Regions from separate parts of the Homo sapiens genome. Here region 2 is linked to region 1. The links are contacts of gene promoters, found by promoter capture Hi-C in human tissues and cell types (Jung and others, 2019). All regions are on one chromosome and are shown on one strand. Each heading gives the region's core, a stretch centred on a gene start or on the middle of the fragment in contact. The rest is flanking DNA. Distances are from core to core; before and after follow the strand shown. Region 1 holds the start of CNGB3 (cyclic nucleotide gated channel subunit beta 3). Region 2 overlaps CNGB3-AS1 (CNGB3 antisense RNA 1).

Evidence for each region. The method cuts DNA at HindIII sites, captures the fragments that hold promoters and counts their contacts. A contact is called where the count stands out against the background at its distance.
Region 2: a fragment that was not itself captured here is called in contact with the fragment with the promoter of CNGB3 in region 1 in 3 of the 25 tissues and cell types used here (H1 embryonic stem cells, mesendoderm cells and neural progenitor cells).

Annotation. Positions count from the first base shown.
Region 1 is chr8:86,742,131-86,747,115 of GRCh38, forward strand. CNGB3 (cyclic nucleotide gated channel subunit beta 3) reads right to left here and starts at 1,504. Exons shown (of 18, transcript NM_019098.5): 1 at 1,369-1,504. The coding sequence starts at 1,497. The HindIII fragment of the contact is 5,975 bases long and covers 1-3,097 here.
Region 2 is chr8:86,780,940-86,785,951 of GRCh38, forward strand. It overlaps CNGB3-AS1 (CNGB3 antisense RNA 1), which reads left to right. Exons shown (of 5, transcript XR_001745726.1): 5 at 2,934-3,035. Among named protein-coding and RNA genes, the nearest start is that of CNGB3-AS1, 20 kb to the left of the region's middle. The HindIII fragment of the contact is 7,048 bases long and covers 1-5,012 here.

The DNA.
Region 1 (4,985 bases), core at 254-2,753:
AATGTTCTCCAAGAGAATAATATATTAGCTATTAACGGTTTTTATGTGCTCCCTTGGAAAATAATCACAGTAGGCAAGGGTTAAAGATGGATGTAGTGACTTTCCCAGAGCAAAACACAGCAAGACTAGCTGAAGGAAAGTACCAGCTCAATATTTGTGACATTGTATGAGTTCTTAAACATATAGATAACTTAGTGTGGGATTATTTATTTTGACATAAGAATTAGAAAGAAGTCAAGGGCACTCTCTCGAAGCAATACTAACACAGTCCTCCTCATCTCCTCTCTACTGCAAAGCAGTCAACATTAATCAGAAAAGGAAGGCAGATTTTCCACGGCCCATGTTAAATAGTCTCAGTGTTGTCTATCCTCTAGGCTCATTTAAACCCGAACCATTGGACTATGCTCCCCTAGTCCCTGAGGAGCACTCCTGCTTGTACTTGTCATCTCTCATCCAGCTGTTTCAGATGGCAAAATAACTACTGCTCTAAAAATCTTCTGTAGCTCTTTTAGATAATTCTAGTGAGTAATTCACGAAAATTATTCTGTGGATAGTTCTAAGTAAATATTGCTCTTGTAATGATCACTTAGGACTTAAACCTGTCACAGAAACACAAATTCTTATTAATAATAATAATAGCCACTTGTAAAGTACCTACCATGTGCTTTATATATTACTGTCTCTAGTTCTCATAACAAAGCAGAAATTATCATATACATTTTGCAGAAAAATATATTTAGAACTTGTGAAAAGGCTTGTTTAAAGTTCCTCCACCTTGGCAGTATTAAAATTTTGTAGTGTATAATTCTACGTTGTGGAGGGCTGTCCTGTACATGATAGGATGTTGAGCAGCATCTGCAGACTTTACCCACTGGATGCCAGTAACATCCCCACCCCGGAGCTATGACAACTGAAAGTGTCCCCAGATTTGCCAAATGTCCCTTGAGTGGTAAAATCGCTCTCAATTGAGAGCCAATAGGTTTCCTATTGCTCTAGAGATTTATTGTTAACATGTGGTTTATGAAGACCAGGATACTTGATGTTCTTTGTTGAAACTCAATCAAGTAACCAATTTAATATTTGAGAAATGGTTTCATTTTGGATGATGGTAGAAGTGAAAATCAGCAATGAGAAGTCTTACTTGGCTTTTCCAAATCCTAGTATAGTCTCCTAAACATTTATTATTCTTTTTATGAACAAATACATACAGAATATATAAATTAATGAAGATAAGCCCGACACAGTACATGTACCAGATGGTGCCAGGTAAAACTACTAAACAATCATATATCGTAGCAGTGATTAAATGCTATTACCAGATAAGAAATGATGAAAATCAAGGCTTGCATAGGAATGTAGAGGACATACCTGTGCTGTGGTTTGCTGAGACTGATTACTTGGGTGAGAGCCTTCTTCATTCCGACGAGAACTTTGTTCATTCTCATTGTTCTCTCCTATAGGCTTCACCTTGTTGACTTTTGTCAGCGATTTAAACATCTTCTCTGAGGTGGTTCTGAAAACCCTCTGTATTTATGACTGTGCCTTAAGGTAGAGAAATGTACTTTGTTTTCCTTTTCTTTAGTAGACAAGCCAATTAGCTGTTTAATCAGGATTTTGTTCTGGTTAATTCCTACAGGCAACTCCTTAGCTAGTCAGGGCTTTGGCTTAAAAGCAGCAAAATACTTCTGCTTGGGTGATTTGCACTCTGTTTATGAACTTTAGGGAGTCAAAATGATCTTGTGAATAATTTAGAAGTAGAGGATTAAACACAGCTTCATAGTTGATTTGAATGGTTTAAATGTGATCACACAACACATTGTTTTCTTTCTTTTTTTTTCCTTCTAATTACCCACCTACTTATCTTTATCTGTCTAACTTTATGCAAAGTAATATGGAAATGATTAAAAAAAATCCATGAGGGCTTATGATATGAAGCAACTCATTCACTCCTCAAAATCCCCTTCTCTGGTCCTGCAATGTTAGGCCACTATTTTTAAGCTTTCTTTTTCTGTTCTTCTGGTGGTTGATTTCCACATGGCTAAACAAAAAAAAATCTGCTTATTCTACTCTGCCTCTGTGTGTGTGTGTGTCACTTTTGACCCCAAACCTGTGTGAGGCAAAGATACAAGACTAAGATTTGTTAAAGAGAACTTTTTTTTCCCCTTTGCCCGGAGCCCAGACAAAGTTGATGTTCTATGCTGTTGGATGAGATTTTTTAGTGCACCAAAGACGCATGATTTTTTTTAAAGGGGTTCTGTTTTTGTTTTTGTTTTTAATGAGAGCACTTATCTTCTGCAGTTTCAAATTAAAACCAAAGCCTTTATGCAACAAGGTACACACCCACACCCAGGGCAGCCTAAGTCAACCCATCAAATACTTCTTGCCCTCTGTATTTTTGCAATCTGGAAATTTCCTTGAGATACTAGTTATGTATTTTAAGATACGTTTATTACAGTTAATACAGAAAAAAGCCTTTAAGTATTTATGAAGAAAGCATTTTAATTTAGATTTCATATTACCAAAATCGCAGTTCCCTTATGGATTTTTAAAATAAATTAGAAGTTTTAATTTTAGATTCAACCATTTTATCAAAAATAAACTTACCTAATAAATAACGTAATTGAATACATGATTTGACTTATATGGCCTGGAAACACAAAGCTATTTATTTTTGTTAAAAAATGGTGGGGGGTGTTTTGGTTCCATTATTGCTTCAGAAATAATTCTGAATAGATTATCAAATATGTATAGGGCCATTTTAGGAACTTTTCAGATAATCCTGTAATCCTGTAATTGATTACATTTTGAACTTTGGGTATAAGCATAGAAGCTAAGCCAAAGGAAGGGAAGGTGTTAACAGCCAGCCTGTGACTAATTTTTTCCCTTCCTAAGACCTGCAGAGGAAAAAATGACCTCACCAGACTTTCGTATAAATCTCATAGTATTTATCAGTGGAAAGATACCAGGGAGTCCCTATTTATGAAACTTTTTTAGCAGGACATTTCTGGTCTGTCTAGATTGCTTATTGTAAATAAGCCTGGAATTTAGCAGGCTGGCTGGAGAATGGAGAGAGAGGTGCTATGTAAGCTCTGTAAGAGAATGTGGAACGAAGATGTCCCCAAACCAAACTGCCTTCTTTTTGTGAGAAATGTTTTTGCAGACAATGCTCAAAAATTACTTGTAAATGCAAAACCAAAATATGCCAACTGCAGGAGAAAAATGGTCTGTTTTGTTTGGATGCTGTGTCTGACAGTTTGGGGTTTTTCCCAAAATGAATGTTTTGTTTATTCCTGATGGCGGCTTGTAGCCAACGAATCATTAATAAAGTTTGGTGCTATGTAAGATCTGTGATTCTGGCTAGTCTGTTTTGACAATTTAACCCTTTAGATTTGTCACAGGTCAGAATAAATGGGATGGAGATATTATTAAATAATTCAAGCACCTTTAAAATGATTTAAAATACCTCCAACAACCTGATTTTTGACAATAGAGTGGCATTAACATGGGCATTAAAATTATAAATGACTACTTTTATTTTGTCTAGATCAGAGGTCTCAAAGTTTGGAAAATGGACAACTAGAAAGAATTCTGGAATGAAGGACATGAATTTTGGATCATTCTTTTTCACTTTAGTAGCTCTGTGGACTAAAGTAAATCTCTTGCCTTAACCTGGAAATAACTAGGTTGGGAAAAAACAATGTTTGTTTTCTTCTGGTTTTAAATTCTGTGATTTGTGGTCTTCCACAGAGGAGCTCTTCTAATCAGCAAGAAGATAAGGGAAGAAGGAGGGTTGCTTATTCTGGGTGAAATGGCTTACTAGAATTTCACCAATAACAATTTAATTTTTTTGTACCAAGTTGCCATATTGCTGAGGTAGTGTATGACAATGGGAATAAAAACAATTTTTCTTCAATATAACGGACTGTTTGTCTAACTGAAGCCCCTCAGCCACTCCTCCTTCTCTACAGCATAAATGTATAAACTCCTTACCAGGACATTCCCGGCCTTATATCATTGACCTTTGCCTAACTCTAGTTTAATCTGTAACCCCGACCTCTCTTTTGGCTCTTGCCATAATCAGTAATTTAAAATAGCTTGAACTTCTCTGCTTTTTCTTGCCTGTACCCATGTCTTTGCTCATGTGTACTGTTCCCCTGCCTGCAACGCTGTTCCACTTCTTGTCTATCTAGCTTAAGCTTGGTGTTTCCTTCTCCTACCGTTCCTCTCTTCTACCATGGACAGCTATACCTATAATCCTGTCTTTTTGTTGCAATTGTATCTGTGCCATACAGAGATCTCTACTTTGTCACTTCTCATTTTACAGCCATGTCCAGGTCTATTTTCTCTATTAGAGCATAAGCTCCTGCAGGCAGAGACTATGCTTTGGCCACCTTCAGATTCCTGTGCCCAGCTCAGTGCTTGACATATTCTAGGTACTCCATGAATGTTTGTTGAATAAATAACAGGAAGAAGATGGTATAGACCATCTCTTAGTTCTAGATTAACAGTGAAGAGATTCTCTGTGGTAGATGCAGTGTGTAAGAGAAGTGGAAAAAATCTCCCTGGAAGAATGCAAATGTTGTAGCCTCATTGTTTTTTATTAGTAGCCATTGCAGGCTGAAGTTGGGATAGGCTGAGAGAAGCATGCATAAAATAATGGTATGTTTTAAAACAAATGGTGTCTTAGATACCGTAGATGGTATACAGATGGCACATAGGAATATAACACGTAAAATACAAATCAGATGGTAATAAAGCTATGCTAAAACAAAAAGATTATCATCATTAGCAAACAGTTCCATATTCTTGTTGTGACTAGTAATTTTATTTTCAGCAGAGCATTAGCCATCTTACAGACAGCATTGTTTTAATCTTATTGATTTTTAAGTTTTATGTTAAATTTTCAAACAAGTTTTAGCTTTATGGTTCTATAAAAATTATAAGCAAATGAAGATTATATCTAGTTTCAGGTTGGAACATATTTA
Region 2 (5,012 bases), core at 1,931-4,430, 40 kb after region 1:
TCTATGTCAGCTGTGAAAGTAGCCAGGAGAGGGGCTATACCCTGCAAAGCCACAGGGGTGGAGCTTCCTGAGACTATGGGAACCTACCTCTTGAATCAGCATGACCTGGATGTGAGACATGGACTCAAAGGAGATCATTTTGGAGCTTTAAGATTTGACTGACCCACTGGATTTCAGACTTGCATGGGGCCTGTAGCCCCTTTGTTTTGGCCAATTTCTCCCATTTGGAAGGGCTGTATTTATCCAATGCCTGCACCCCCATTGTATCTAGGAAGTAACTAATTTGCTTTTGATTTTATAGGCTTATATGTGGAAGGGACTTGCCTTGTCTCAGATGACACTTTGGACTGTGGACTTATGAGTTAATGCTGAAATGAGTTGAGACTTTGGGGGACTGTTGGGAAGGCATGATTCATTTTGAAATGTGAAGATATGAGATTTGGGAGGGGCCAGGGGTGGAATGATATGGTTTGGCTCTGTGTCCCCACCAAAATCTCATCTTGTAGCTCCCATAATTCCCACATGTTGTGGGAGAGACTTGGTGGGAGATGATTGAATTATGGGGGTGGGTCTTTCCCATGCTGATCTGGTGATAGTGAATGAGTCTCATGAGCTCTGATGGTTTTAAAAATGGGAGTTGCCTTGCACAACCTCTCTCTTTGCCTGCTGCCATCCACGTAAAACATGACTTGCTCCTTCTTGCCTTCCACCATGATTGTGAGGCCTCCCCATCCATGAGGAACTGTAAATCCGATACACCTCTTTCTTTTGTAAATTGCCCAGTTTCAGGTGTGTCTATCAGCAGTGTGAAAATGGACTAATACAACAGGTATACTTAATGTAAAAATGACATATTTTCTTCAAGATCAGAAATAAGACAAGAATTTCCACTGTCAGTGTCAAATGTTTTACATAATACTGGCTGTTATGGCAAATACCATAAGTAAAGCAAAGAATAAAAGAGGTATAAGGATTAGTAGGAGAGAGATGTATCTGTTATTTGCAGATATTGTGATTATCTTCTACGAGCTGAGTACCTCTCATCCAAAATGACTGAGACTACAAGTGTTTCAGATTTTAATTTTTTTGGAATATTTGCATATACCTAATAAGGTATCTTGGAGATGGGGCCCAAGTCCAGACAAGAAATTTATTTATGTTTCATACACACTTTATACACATCGTCTGAAGTTTATTTTATATAATATTTTAAATAACTTTGTGCATAAAACAAAGTTTTAACTGTGACCTGTCACGTGAGGTCAGGTGTGGAATTTTCCACTTGTTATGTCATGTTTGTGCTCAAAAGGTTTTGGATTTGGGAGCATTTCAGATTTTGGATTTTTGGATTAGGGGTGCTCAACTTGTATGTCAGTTTCCTAGGGATGACATAACAAATTACCGCAAACTGGGTGACTTGAAACAGTAGAAATTTATTCTCTCACATTTCATGAGACCAGAAGTCCAATGTCAAGGTGTCAGCAGGGTTCCTTCAGGAGGCTCTGAGGGGCAATCTGTTCTGTGCCTCTTTCCTAGTGTTGGTGGTTGCTGGGAATCCTTGACATTCTTGGCTTCTTGACACAGCACTCCAATCACTGTCTTCATTATCACATGGCTGAATTCTTCATCTGTGTGTCTTTACATGGCCTTCTTATAAGGACATTAGTCATTGGATTTAAGGCCCACTTAATCCACTATGACCTCATTTTCACTAATTACATTGGCAAAGACCCTGTTTCAAAAAGAGTGACAGTCTTAGGGAGAGGGTGGATATAAATTTTGGGGGAACACTGTTCAACCCAGTACATCTACACAGGAAAAAAATCCAACAGAATCAAGAGACAAATTCAGAATGCATATGCAAAATTGCCAGACAGAACCTCAACATTTAACAATCAATAACATTTCTCTATACTATGACCATCTAGAAAATATAACCAGAAATAAAGTATTTACAATAGCCACAAAATTCATAGACCTTATAGGAATAAACATATTAAAAAATATATAAAACATTTATGAAGAAAATTCAAAAGCTCTATTAAAGTATATTTTAAAATTTGAATAAAAAGAGAATAATAAATTAATAAATAATAAATCATAAATAAATTTGAATAAAAAGAATAATCTTCAATGGGATGGCTTAATATGATAAAGATGTGTATGTGCATTCTCTTATTAATTATAAATTCAATGAAATTCCAATCAAAACCTATCTTTTATAAGGAGCATGATAAACTTATTCTAAAATTGATATGGAAGAATAGAGAGCAAGAAATAGGAAAGACAATTTTGAAAGAGAGTAGTAAATGAGGAAAAGCTGAATATTTTAAAAGAACACATGCAAATAAAAAGGTAAGCATCAAACATGTTAGAATAGATGCCTATAGGAGGTGAAGGAAATGGGAATAGAGACCAAAGGTCATAAATACACACAAAAAGGAAAGCCTTCGCTCTGGCCAATGGTAGAGAGTATGAATGAACTGAAGCTTAAAATAAGTTGCTCAGCGAGCACAGTATCAGAACAATGCCATTTCTTCAATGATTTCCATCTCAATAGAAGGAATAGAACATTTAACGGCATTTCCATGTATTAGAGATCTGTGTGCCAGCTCTCTATATCTCTACAATGTTATCTTACTATTGTCTATCTAGCTCAGTTTTCTAGTGCTGCCATTAACAAATTACCACAAACTTGGTGGTTTAAAACAACAGAACTATTTTTTCTCCCAGTCTGGAGGCCAGAAGCCCGAAATGAAGGTGAGTTCAGGGTTGGTTCCTTCTTAAAGCTCTGAGGGCAAAACCATTTTATGCCTCTCCTAGCTTCTGGTGGGTGCCAGTAATCCTTTGTGTTTCTTGACTAGTAGACACATCACTCCAGTCTCTGTCTCCATCTTCAAATTGCCTTCTTACCCATGTTTCCTCTATTCTAGGGACACTTGTCACTGGATTGAAGGCATATTCTAATTTAGGACAATGTCTTGAGATCTTTAACTTAACTACATTTGCAAAGACCCAATTTCCAAGTAACTGGAACATTCGTAAGTTCAAGTTAAACATGTCTTTTGTGGGGAGCAGCCATTCAATTCATGGAACTATCTTTATACCTAATTAAGCACTGTATCATATAATCCTTACATGTGGAGTATCGTCTGCATTTAAGAGATAGTTAATTGACGCTCAAGGAAATCTGTATCAGCTTGTTTGCATTTCTTCCTCACTCCTCACTTAAACCTGATATGATTTCTGCTTCCTTTTTTTTTTTTTTGCTTAACTGTTAGCTGCCTTGTCCAAGTAGACAAGACTAAAAGATTTTTTTAAGAATCTTAAAAAAATTTAAATCTTAAAGAAAAAGATTTAAATCTTAAGAAAAAATCTTAAAAGATTCTTAAAGTATCTTTAATGTTAAAATCAAACAAGCATTAATAAATGCCAAAAGGAAAACGTACATCACTGTCACAGATTATAATTTAATAAAGTTAGAAATTAATTTTAAGAAATTTAAACAAAAAATGCCAAACCATTTTGAAATTTGTGAAAGGTATACTCCTAAGGAAATCTTACGTGGAAGAGATATATAACAGCTATTGAACACAGCTCCAAAAAATTTTTACTCTAATAATATATGATCAAAGCTATATTCTTAGTAACATTCCTAGTAGAAAATAATTATAATTTTGAATGGAACAACAAGGAATGGAAGCAAATGGAAAATTCAACATCAGAAGCTAGACAAATAAGACAAAGTTCAATAAAGAAGAAACAAAATGTAACAGATAAAATAATGAATTATGTTCCTAAGTATTTTATTATTATCATGCTACTGATTTGTGTACATTGATTTTGTATCCTGAAACTTTACTGAATTTATTTATCAGATTTGGAGGCTTTTTAGGGTCTTTATGGTTTTCTAGGTATATCATCAGCAAACAGCAACAGTTTGACTTCCTCTTTTCCAGTTTGGATGCCCTTTATATTTTTATCTTGTCTGATTGCTCTGGAAGGAGGAAAAAGATCTCTATAAGAAAAACTACAAAACACTGCTGATCATAAATGACACAAACAAATGGAAACAGCTTCCATGCTCTGGATGGGTAGAATCAATATTGTGTAAATTACCATACTGCCAAAAGCAATCTACAGATTCAGTGCAATTCCAATCAAAATACTATCATCATTCTTCACAGAACTAAAAAAAAAAAAAAAAAATCCTAAAATTCATATGGAACCAAAAAAGAGCCTGCATAGCCAAAGCAAGACCAAAAAGAACAAATCTGGAGGCATCACATTACCTGGCTTCGAACTATATAATACAAGGCTATAGTTATCAAAATAGCATGGTACTGGTATAAAAATAAGCACGTGTAATTTCCCTATTAGAGAAGTTTTCTCATTTCTTTTTCAGGGGCTTGTGGTCTCTTGCTTCCTCTGTTGTCTGTCTGTGGTACTGCAACAAGCTGATGAGCTCTCTTTTGTTTTCTGAGGTTCTAGGCATCTAAAGTATGCCAGTTCTGTAAGCAATCCGAATCAGACAAGACAGAAACCAGTTTGTTGAACAGCCCTTCAGAAAGTTGGAACATTGAATACTTGTTCCACTCTTCTCTTTTGTTCCCAAGGGAGAAGCTACTAGCTGGGTAATTTCTCCTGATCTCAGTGAGCTGTGGCAGCTTCTGTCTGTGGCATTACAATTTTTCCGGTAGTGCCATAAGCTGCTGAGCTCTGTGTTGTTTTCAGCAGCTCCAGGCATCCCAAGTAATAGCAATTCCTTATAATTGCTGAGTCAGGCGAGACAGAAACCAGCACCTCAGGCACCCCCTTGAAAATTAATTTCTACTCTTCCTTTCTCTCTCAAGGAGAAGTTTCAAATTGGGATTTTACTCCCATTGCCCTGTGCTAGCTTGGGGAAGGGGCTGGCATGGCTGAAATAAAATGACTCTTCTTACCCATTTTAATGCAGCTATTCTTGGTTTTGGGCTTGTCTGGGGTACTGTGACTTCCTAACTCGTTTCTGC